2 separate regions of the Homo sapiens genome follow, and region 2 is linked to region 1. Evidence: promoter capture Hi-C in 16 types of primary human blood cells and fetal thymus (Javierre and others, 2016). All regions are on one chromosome and are shown on one strand. Each heading gives the region's core, a stretch centred on a gene start or on the middle of the fragment in contact. The rest is flanking DNA. Distances are from core to core; before and after follow the strand shown. Region 1 holds the start of MKRN2 (makorin ring finger protein 2). Region 2 has its middle 5.7 kb from the start of TAMM41.

Evidence for each region. Contacts are between HindIII fragments. The CHiCAGO score rates a contact against its expected background, and 5 or more counts as called.
Region 2: a fragment that was not itself captured here is called in contact with the fragment with the promoter of MKRN2 in region 1 in 1 of 17 cell types (naive CD8 T cells); the score reaches 5.3 in naive CD8 T cells.

The regions. Positions count from the first base shown.
Region 1 is chr3:12,554,525-12,559,708 of GRCh38, reverse strand. MKRN2 (makorin ring finger protein 2) reads right to left here and starts at 2,622. Exons shown (of 8, transcript NM_014160.5): 1 at 2,533-2,622. The coding sequence starts at 2,558. It also overlaps a transcript of MKRN2OS not described here. RefSeq lists enhancers at 1,903-1,962, 1,872-2,395, 2,783-2,842, 2,893-3,002 and a silencer at 2,523-2,612. The HindIII fragment of the contact is 4,764 bases long and covers 988-5,184 here.
Region 2 is chr3:11,849,932-11,855,231 of GRCh38, reverse strand. No RefSeq gene overlaps it. Among named protein-coding and RNA genes, the nearest start is that of TAMM41, 5.7 kb to the right of the region's middle. The HindIII fragment of the contact is 202 bases long and covers 3,483-3,684 here.

The DNA.
Region 1 (5,184 bases), core at 1,373-3,872:
ATGTCAAGGAATCAGAAGAGCTGACTGACAGCATAACTGTACGAGCAGTCATTTTTACCACTCCAGGCAATAAAAACATGGAGTGTCTTTGTCATTAGGTTTGAGACTCCTAGCATTTGATAAGCAACTCTTGGAGATACATAATATCTAACAGATTGGAAGCAAAACTGACATTATTCTGCTGTCATTCAAAATAAACATGTACATCACATCCCACAGTCAGGAAAACAAACCTAAAACTTTGTGACCTGAGATTAAAAAAAACAAAAAAACAAACAAAACCCACAAAAAACCGCACACGCTGCTTAGATCTGGTCCCCAAAATAAATCATACCTTGAACATTTCCTATAAATTATCAATGTCTAGAGACAAGGCTTTTGTTAATGAGATAATAAAGTGAGAAAAGCTTTTGGTAGATAAGCTGGTAGAAAAGTTGATGGTAGATAAACACACTAATGTAAACTTGGTACTCTTGGTCATATTGGTTTTTTCCCACTTAAAACACCTGTTATGTTTTTTATTTGGCAAGGCAGTCATCGGGAGCCCTGACTCCTTTACACCCTTTTGTGAGTAAACTTCTTTGCAGTTTTACATATCCTTGTATGAGTTTCCTTTCATGGGAACACATTAAAAGCTTTGATAAGTCCTGCAATAAATAAATTTTAATTTAGCATTTCAAAACTTATCTGGAGGCCCTACAGTCTATGAGGGCATGAACTTTGATTTCACACCTCTGTCACTTGGAAGCTAAATGACCTTAGGCAAGTCGCTTCAATGCTGAGGCTCAGTTTTACGATCTGTGGAAGAGCGCTGGTTGCTGGATTATACACTACAGTACCTAAGAGCCGCAGCACATTGTAAGTCCCCAACAAACATGACTAAACACTTAAACAGAAGTGATCCCTTCTCAACATTCCAACCCAATCTTCATTTATATGGAGCAACATCCTACAGAACACCCCTGTTTGGGAAACAGAATTAAAGCTTTCAAGTCAAGCTATCTCCAGGTATACAAGGAAAAAACCAAGATGATCCTGATTTAGGTCCTTGTGCCTCTACTAAGGTGTAAAATTTTAGGCAAATTTCAAGTCTTTCTGAGCATAAGATTCCTTATTTGTAAAATAAGATACTACAGAGTTGAGATTCAATTATAAAGCATTATTACATAAATGTGTACTGTTTTGTGGACACTTCTTAGATGAGGTACGGGAATAAATGGTAGAATTAAACCATAGAGCGAGGGGAGGAATACAGAGGTTTTTCTAGGAGGCTACAAGCTGCTTTACAGTGCACAATGACCTAGGAATACTTCCTCCAGCAGGAGAAACTTTATACAAATAAAAATACGTAAACACACACAAACCCGTCTTCACAAAACACCTTCTAGTACAAATAACCTAGTAAAAGTCTTTTTATAGACACTAGGTGCAAATTTCTGACAACAGCTTAACATAAGCCACCTGGGCCTTGGATAAATTGAACAGTAAATGTACACTAATGCTAACAGAAAACTTACTACACAGTCACGTCTCAACTATTCATACCAATGAAGAGAAGTAACAACATAGAAAATAAACTGTTTATTACACAAACTCTATAACTGTTTTTAAGCAATGTTTCCCATAAAAATTATTAAATGAAATTTGCATTTTCCAAGCATACAATTCAATTTGCGTTTTCCAAACATACAATTCAATAGGACTAGACTCCATTACCAGTAAGCCACAAGCTGACCAAGCAATGAGGGTGTTACACAACCACACTATTCTATTTCATAGGAGCAGTCGTAGTGTAGCTATCTGGCTATTTTCTACAATAAACCATCCATTACCGTCGCATTTCTCCTCGTAAATGGCTCTCTCAGTAAGATAAATGAGTGTCAACGTCTTTCGGTCTCAGTTTCCTGCACTGTAAAATGGTAATAATAACTACTAAGTTGTCTTACTGTGAAGTCTGATGATAATGAATATAAAGGACTTGGAAATATGCAGGGCGCTTCGCCGATATTCACAATATGCTACCTGTCGTTATTTTCCACACAACAACTTTTACTTGTTAACTCTCTGCAAGTTTAGATTGCATCTGGATTCTCCAAACTTTGAGGCCCTCATAATCGATTAACAAATTACTCCTATGTGGTATCCCCATTTGTAACCGTCCTCTCGGCGTCCCTTTACTCAACTTCAAATCTTTTCCAGTTAAAGCGTAAGCCCCAGAGCCTTCCCGACAGCGCCCCGGCATCCTGCACGGCCCTGGCTAGGACGTCCTTCCTCCCAGCCCACAGGGGCCACGCTTCAAACTCGGGGCGTAGCCCCCCGCGCTGGCCTCGCCCAGCGTCTCGGCCACGCATCCCCCGGATCCCCGGCTGTGGCGGCAGCGCTCGCTCTGCCTCGCAAAGCCCCGCCGCGAACAGCCGAGTAACTTTCCGAGTCCCGCTCTAGCCTCAGGTTCCCGGACCACAGCACTGGCGCGCACCGGCCCCCCTGCGGCCTGGGGGAGCGGCCCGAAGCTCCTGGCTCCAGCGCACTGACCTGCAAGTGATCTGCTTGGTGCTCATGGTGGCTGGGCTGAGGGACCGTCGTCGTGCCGCCGCCTCTCGCAGCCGCTGCCGCCTCGGCCTTGGCCCTGGCCCGGCCCATCCCGCGTAGCCGCGTCACGCCGGCGCACGCCGGCGCACGCCGCCCCTCCGGTGTGGCACCTTTGTAGCGCCGGCGGGTAACCTAGCCGTCGTCACAATTGGTTCCGCACCGGGGATCGGGCCGGCTGTCCCGGCATCCCTGCTCTCGGTGTCCCGCACTTCCAAGCCTCCGGGGCGGAGCCTGGCTGGCATCTTAGTCCTGCCAGTCTTATCCCGATGCCTACTGTTAGTGCCTGCGATTCTGCCCCGATCGCCAAGAGTATTCCTTAGGGATCTCCCGCCTCCTTCGAGGCACTTCACCACTCCTGGGGAAACTCCAGCCTCTCCTCTTAATCCCGGATGCCCCTATCCATTCATACTCGCACTCACTGGGCACCCTTCTCAGGCCCTGCCTCAACTGTTCCCGCCGGACCTCGCCTCCCACTTAAGGAAATTCCTTAGCTCTCTCCCAACTGCTCTTTCCCCAAATCTCTACTTCCACAAGTTTTAGTCTTCATTTTCTTTCCTGCCAGTCTTGTGCTGCTCGTCTTCCATTTCCTATGGTGGAAACCCCAAAAGTTATTTTTGACACTTCCCTCTAGCTCTCTATACCCTGCAGATTCTGCTCCCACACCTCTGTCCAATGCGTCCTCTTCTGCCCCCTTTCCACCGTCCCTTCTACCTAGCACCATGCGATACCTTTTTTTTTAATTATTATTATTTTATTTTTTATTTTTTTGAGACGGAGTTTCTCTCTTGTTGCCCAGGCTGGAGTGCAGTGGGGCGATCTCGGCTCACTGCAACCTCCGCCTCCCGGGTTCAAGCGATTCTCCTGCCTCTCAGCCTTCCACGTAGCTGGAATTACAGGCGTGCACGCCTGGCCAGCCATGCGATAGCCTTTTAACTGGTCTTCTGGCTTCCGTTCCTGGTAAAAATCTATTTTTAAAACATAAATCGGATCATGTCATTCACCTTTTAATCTTACAATGGTTTCTCATTGCTTAAAAACTCGAGATACATAACATGCACAATATAAGTGCACCAAACACATTCTATGAATTTTTGCACATGCATACACTCATGAAACTACCACCCAGATCAAAATAAAGAATTTTTTGTTTTGTTTTGAGGCAGGGTCTTGCTCTGTCGCCCAGGCTGGAGTGCAGTGGCGCCATCATAGTTCAAGCAGTCCTCTGCCTTAACCTCCCCAGCAGCTGGGAATACAGGTGCGCGACACCATGCTCGACTAAACTTCAAAATGCTGGAGTAAGGAGAGGTTGAGCCGGAAGGATCCTTTGAGCATAGTTCACTGCAGTCGAGGCTGCAGGGGGTGGGTGGGGGCTGGATATTATCGACACCCCAGAAGGGCTTCCTTATGGTCCTTCCCAGGCAATACTTTACAAAGGTCATTGCTTGGGTTCATCTCTATCACTATAAATTAGTTTAACTGTTCTTGACTTTCATATAAATAATAATTCAGTACCTACGCTTTTGTCTGCCTTCTTTTGACCAACATTTTATCTGTGAGATCTTTCCATGTTATGTATGTATAGCTGTATGTTCTTTTTTTACTTTGCTATAAAAATATTGAGTCTTCCAATGAATGAGCATGGTATATACTTCCAATTATTTAGAACTTTTGAAATTTTTCTCAGGAATTTGGAAGTATACTGGAAATTTTGTTTTCAGTGTCTTGAATATTGCATTTTAACTCATAACACATTTGATCCATGCAATTCATGCTCATAAAAATTACACGTCTTTTTTTTTTTTTTTTTTGAGACGGAGTCTTGCTCTGTCACCCAGGCTGGAGTGCAGTGGCATGCTCTTGGCTCACTGCAACCTCCACCTCCCGTGTTCAAGCGATTCTCCTGTCTCAGCCTCCGGAGTAGCTGGGATTATACAGGCGCACGCTGCCACGCCCAGCTGATTTTTTGTGTTTTAGTAGCGACGGGGTTTCACCCTGTTGCCCAGGCTGGTCTCGAACTTCTGAGCTCAGGCAATCCACCCGCCTCGGCCTCCCAAAGTGCTGGGATTACGGGCGAGAGCCACCGCGCCCAGCCCATGCCACTTATTTTTAAAATTCAGCTTATCTCATTCTTTATGGAATACATTCACGATCTGAACGTTATTATGTTCAAATATTTTAAAAGCGTAAAGTGAAAAGTCTCAGTCTCCTGTCAATTTAGTTCCCGCCTCTTCAAAACAAAAAGCAGAAACATTTTTTAAAACCTCAAAACCTGGCCACTGTTATCAAATTTGTATACATCTTTCCAGAATTTCTTTAAATATACACAAGTAAATACATATATATTATTTTCTCCTTTTTGTAGAAAAGATAACATAACGTACTGTTCTGCACAGCGTACATAATCAGTGGAGATTTTTCCATATCAGTACATAGAGCCTCTTCCTCCTTTCGTAGAACTGTATAGTATTCCGTTGTACGACTATGCCATAAGTTATTTCATCAGCCTTGTACTGCTGGTGCCCTTTAGGGTGTCTGTGCAAATAAAACACTGGATCGGGCACATGTTCTCAGGATCTCCTGAGGTCTGTGTCATGG
Region 2 (5,300 bases), core at 2,334-4,833, 710 kb after region 1:
AACTGCTGTTTAACTTTCTCTGGGTTATATTTACATACGTGTGCTATTAATATATGTTCCAAAATTGTGTAAGATTCCTTAAATTCTGATATGTCTTAGTATTTGTCATCAGGAATAATTCTGATTATTATGCTTAATTGCAGTATGCCACAAAAACAATCAAATTTCCTTGACAATTGTGTCTTTAACCATGAATATTGCCTTTCCTAACCACAGACAATTACTGTTTTACTTTGGTTATTCTCAAAAAGTGGTTTATGATCAGCTACAGCCCAAAATCTGCTTCTTTTAAAAAAAATCATAGAAAAGGCTCTGCCACAGACTTTTAAATACAGGTTTCTGATAACTTTAGCTATCATACCATTAGACTAGGAAAGAACTTCTAGGACTCTAACTAAAAGGCTGATGTGTTTATGAAGATAGCTAACTCAACATCAAGCAGAACAAGGTTAATTACATTGAACTAAACTAATAAAAGACTAAACTGATTTTTTCACAGCCTCTTTTTTAAAAAACATTGCCAGTCCTTTTAATGTTTTGTTTTCAGAGTCAAAAAACTTTTTTGTTTCAGCTATTCGTAGCTTATAACAAATGGGTAAAGTATACTTTTGTCAGCAAAATTTAAAACAGATATCTTTCTCTTTACCTGGTTTATTTGGAATTTAGAAACTATTTGTGAGTATTCTTAATTTATGACAATATAGTTATTTACATAAGTTCAGTAAGAATCTGTTTTCTTTTGTAACATGACACAATTAGAGAAACTGGTTATGTTACCAAGGCTTTGACTGGAATGACCTATTTTCAGATATGACCAGACTATGTTGAGGAATTGACATCGACTTTACAGTGCTAATAAAAAGCCCCTTGAAGAGATTGGCCTAGGCTAGGCATGGCAGCTCACCCCCATAATCCCAGCACTTTGAAAGGCCGAAGCCGTAGGATCACTTGAGGCCAGGTGTTCAAGACCAGCCTGGGCAACGTGGCAAGACCTTGTCTCTACCAAAAAAAAATAAATAAAAGCCAGGAGTGGTGGCATACATGTTTAGTCCTACCTACTTGAGAGATTGAGGCAGAGGAATGCTTGAGCCTAGGAGTTCAAGGCTGCAGTGAGCTATGATTACCACTGCACTCAGCCTGTGTTACAGAGGGAGGCCCTGTCTCAAAACAAACAAACAAACAAAAGATTGCCTGGTACCTTGTCTACATAGTTTCTTTACAAGATTCCTGACCTGTGGTAAGTAAAGAATATCACTTCCTAACAGGCCCAGGAAGCTCAAGATATTTTGGGACCCCAAAAAGAGAGGAATTTACCCAGGTGAAAGGTGTCATTGGTAAGTGGCAACTATCTGAGCTGGTGGCGTGGGGGTAAGAAGGCTTTACCAAGACAGTTGTAGGTAAAGAAAGGCAGATTTAGTAGAGAAAGTATGAAAGTACATTGCAAAGGAGCAACAGGCAGAATCAGCAAGAGAGAAGCTGACTGCAAGGAAACAAAGGCTTGCTGGAGATTTTATAGGATGGTTCTTTGCTGTGTACTGAAAAGAGCTTTGTGCAGTATTGATAACGCCAAGGTTACAGCGAGCTGTACAGGTGTCTAGTGATAAGTTGGGCACAGGAGGGCTACGTGTCCTGGACCACAAAGAAAGGCAGACTCATAGCTTATCTGCTTTCTTTCTTTCTTTGCTTTCCCGTGCTCTCACCAGCCTAACTCCTTTTCTCTAATTAGGACTTCACAAAAGGGTTACCCTGGAGGTTTGGAAAGTGTCATTCTAAACGCTTTGTAGGAAGTAAGTCTAGGAAGATTGTACCTAGAGTTTTGTCAGTTCTGGGTCTGAACAAAGACATCCTCAGAGTCCAAAGCGTAGAAATTCTTGGCTTTTTACACCCACAAGTTATAACCGTAATTCATGTGTTGAGAAATTCCCCAATCTCTCTCTTAGGCTATAGGATCCCCTGGTGCCTTCAGGCAAAAGAGGTCCGTGAAAATTAGTCTTGATTGGTTTGGGACACTGAGATGATTCTGGGACAGCAAGGGAGTGCTTGGCACCAGCGCTTCCTAAATTTATGCCACAGAATATGAATCCCAGAAGACACTGAGAGAGAAGGTGGAGGGAGCAGAGGATGGAGGAAAACCTAGTCTGGGAGATTGGAAAATGCTACATGTTCTGCTTCTCTCTTGGAGATTCACAATGCTTATTAATATATTAATGCTCGGAGGAATCCCACATCAAAGATCTCGATTTGCCTCTGTTTAATCCAGAATTTCCCAAACTTAGCTGATAGAATTTTTTATCAAATAACCCTCCTTGGGACAAGCTGCTTTACACCAAACCCAGATCGCAGGGGTTCATGCCAGAGACAGACTTGGTATATGGTAACTAATTCTTTCTCTTCTAACTCAGTTCTTTGCCAATTCAGTTTCTCCCAAAATTCAGGGCCAGTTCTACAGAGAGATAAAGTGGGCAGCTGCTGACCAGCTTGAATTTCAGGGATAGTGGAGAATCAGAAGGGTAAACACATACGTAGTACTCACTACATGTCAGAGATTGATCTAACCAGCTTAGTTGTCATGACAACTCTGGGAGGTAGACGCTCTTATTATCCCCATTTTATACTTGTGGAAACTGAGACACAGAGCCAACTTGCACCAGGTCACACAGATCATCAGTGGCTGAGAATTGAAACCAAGCAGTCTCAATCCAGATTCCACATTCTGCCTCTCAGATGAGATACCTGCTCTGTTCTTTGGAATTCCACCATTATTTATTCATTTCTTTGGTACTGTAAAAGTCCATGGTCTTCCTGAACTCCACTGGAAAACTCAGTGTCCCCCTAGAAGGAGGATTCTAAGACCCAGTATGGAGGCAATTCTTTCTTCTTAGAATTTTTTCACGGTGTACTCTCTGGTGAACTGCTGGTCATCTTCCAAGGTCTAATCCAAATGTCATCCCTCTAAGAAGCTTTCCCAGAAACCCTGAAGAAAAAGTAACCCCTGCTGTCTTACCATTGCGGTGGTATAGATCTGGTTTATACTCTCCATAGTGTATTTTTTTTTGCATGCATGTGAATTTTTTGCCACCAGACTATAACATTTGCAAATGCAGAAATTTTGTTTCAGGCACTGTACTAGGCACTAAAGGACAGAAAGATTAATAAGATATGGTTCCTGACCTCAAAGGGCCCCTAAGCCTTTTATAATTGTACTTGATGGACATATCTGATATTTAAGACAAGAGCTAGAGAGCTAAAAGCAAAGGGTTAGGAAGGCACAGAGAACAGAACACTTTGATAGCTGAGCTGGGACTAAAGGATGAGGAAGGTTTCAATGGGAGAATGAATCAATGAATGAATGGGTCCCTTGGTGAAATGAACACCCCGTGTTATTTTTCTCGTGCAAGAGGAAAGGGATTGGACTTGGAGGCTGTATTAGCAGCTGCCATTAGCCCTGTGACTTCAGGCACATCAATTCTTTTTTCTAAGCTTCAGTTTATCCATCTGTAAAACTGAAATAGTAGCTACTAATTTCCCAGGATTTGTTTTAAGAGCTAAATAAAATCATGTCTGCAAAGTGCTTTGTGTAAAATGCTAAACGCCATAAAGATGTAGGTATAATTATGCTTCTTAATTCCTTTTGTACATTGTCTCTTAAGAATTCAGGAGGATGTCCTCCGTTTATTGAAAGCTTACTCCAGGCACTATTCTATGTACTTTCTAGATACTGTTTCATTTGCTGTCACAACAACCCTGTGAGTGAGGTGTCATTACTCTCCCCAGGCTGCAGATGAGGAAAGGAAAGCACAGAGAGGCTAAGTCTTCTTGTCCAAGGTCACACAGCTATTAAATCCTGGGGCCTGGATTCCAACCCAGGTGGTACCTTCAAGCCCCTGATCAGACACTAAAGATGTATTAAGATGCTCTCAGTTGGCTGGGCATAGTGGCTCACGCCTGTAATTCCAGCACTTTGGGAGGCCTAGGTGGGTGGATTGTTCGAGCTCAAGGGTTCAAGACCAGCCTGGACAACATGGTGAAACCCCATTCTCTACAAAAATACAAAAATTAGCCTGGTGTGGTAGTACATGCCTGTAATCCCAGCTACTCAGGAGGCTGAGGTGGGAGGATCACTCGAGCCTGGGAGGCAGAGGTTACAGTGAGCCGAGATCGTGCCACTGCACTCCAGCCTGGGTGACAGAGTGAAACCCTGTCTCAAAAAAAAAAAAAAAAAAAAAAGAAAAGAAAAGAAAAAAAGAAAAGAAAAGAAAGAAAAGAAAAGAAAAAACGAAAAAATGCTCCCAGTCTGTCCCAGTTCTAACCATCAATCAGCCGAGAATGGACAAATGGGACAGGGTGACCCACCTCTGACAAGATGGAGATCAAGACCCCTCTCCTTCCCCTCCATCAGCAGACCAATTGAACATGTGGCTAATTGTAAGAACCACTGAGCCTGGATTTTTATTCTTCCCCAAACATTTTTCTCTCCTGTACTTAAACACTGATTAGAAAAAAAAAAAAAAAGCATTAAAGCCATAGATGTTTTTTTACAGGGCTTTAAAAAAAATGGATTACATGGATTCGATGAACCTTCTCCTAGTGAAAGCCTGACAAGGTCATTATTAAGGAATACAAAGACAACTGCTAGATAAATCAGAAGAATGAGGCCCAATATTCACTCGAGTCACCAGGCATTTATCTATATTTGTAAGTGGCTCTCTAACATGTTTATTTCATTGGTATAAGCTTTCCAACAGAACCCTAAAGCGATTATATAGAACACTGGGTCTTCCTAATAGCCTCTAATTTCACAAGCCATGGTAATTTAAAAGAGAGTGGGTGGATGAAGGGCCAGGAGCAGGGAGATTTCTGCTGAAGAATACAAATGTGTTCGTGGCTACGTTGCTTCTGCCTCTTTCTGGGGAAAGGCAAAATGCACACAGGAATGTGATGGAACCTTCCAGCTGGTGGTTTTGCATTGCAGGAAGAAAAGTGTTTGTGAACATGAAAATTGCTGATAATTGGGTGTGAACGCCTGTAAGGGAGACAAATGGAGAAACATTGCAGCATCTTTATTTCTATCAAGGGCTGAACTCTGCTGGTGGGTGTGTGAATTGGCACCATCTTTTGGAGGGGAATTTAGCAGCGTGCTGACACTCTGACCCAGCAATTCCCCTTCTAGGAATCTGTCTTATAGCAATACTTGTTCATGCACATAAAATGTACAAGGATGCTCATGATAGCATTGTTTGCAGGTGTGAAAACTAGAAATAACCTACATCCATCAACAATAAAATGTTTAAACAGGCCAG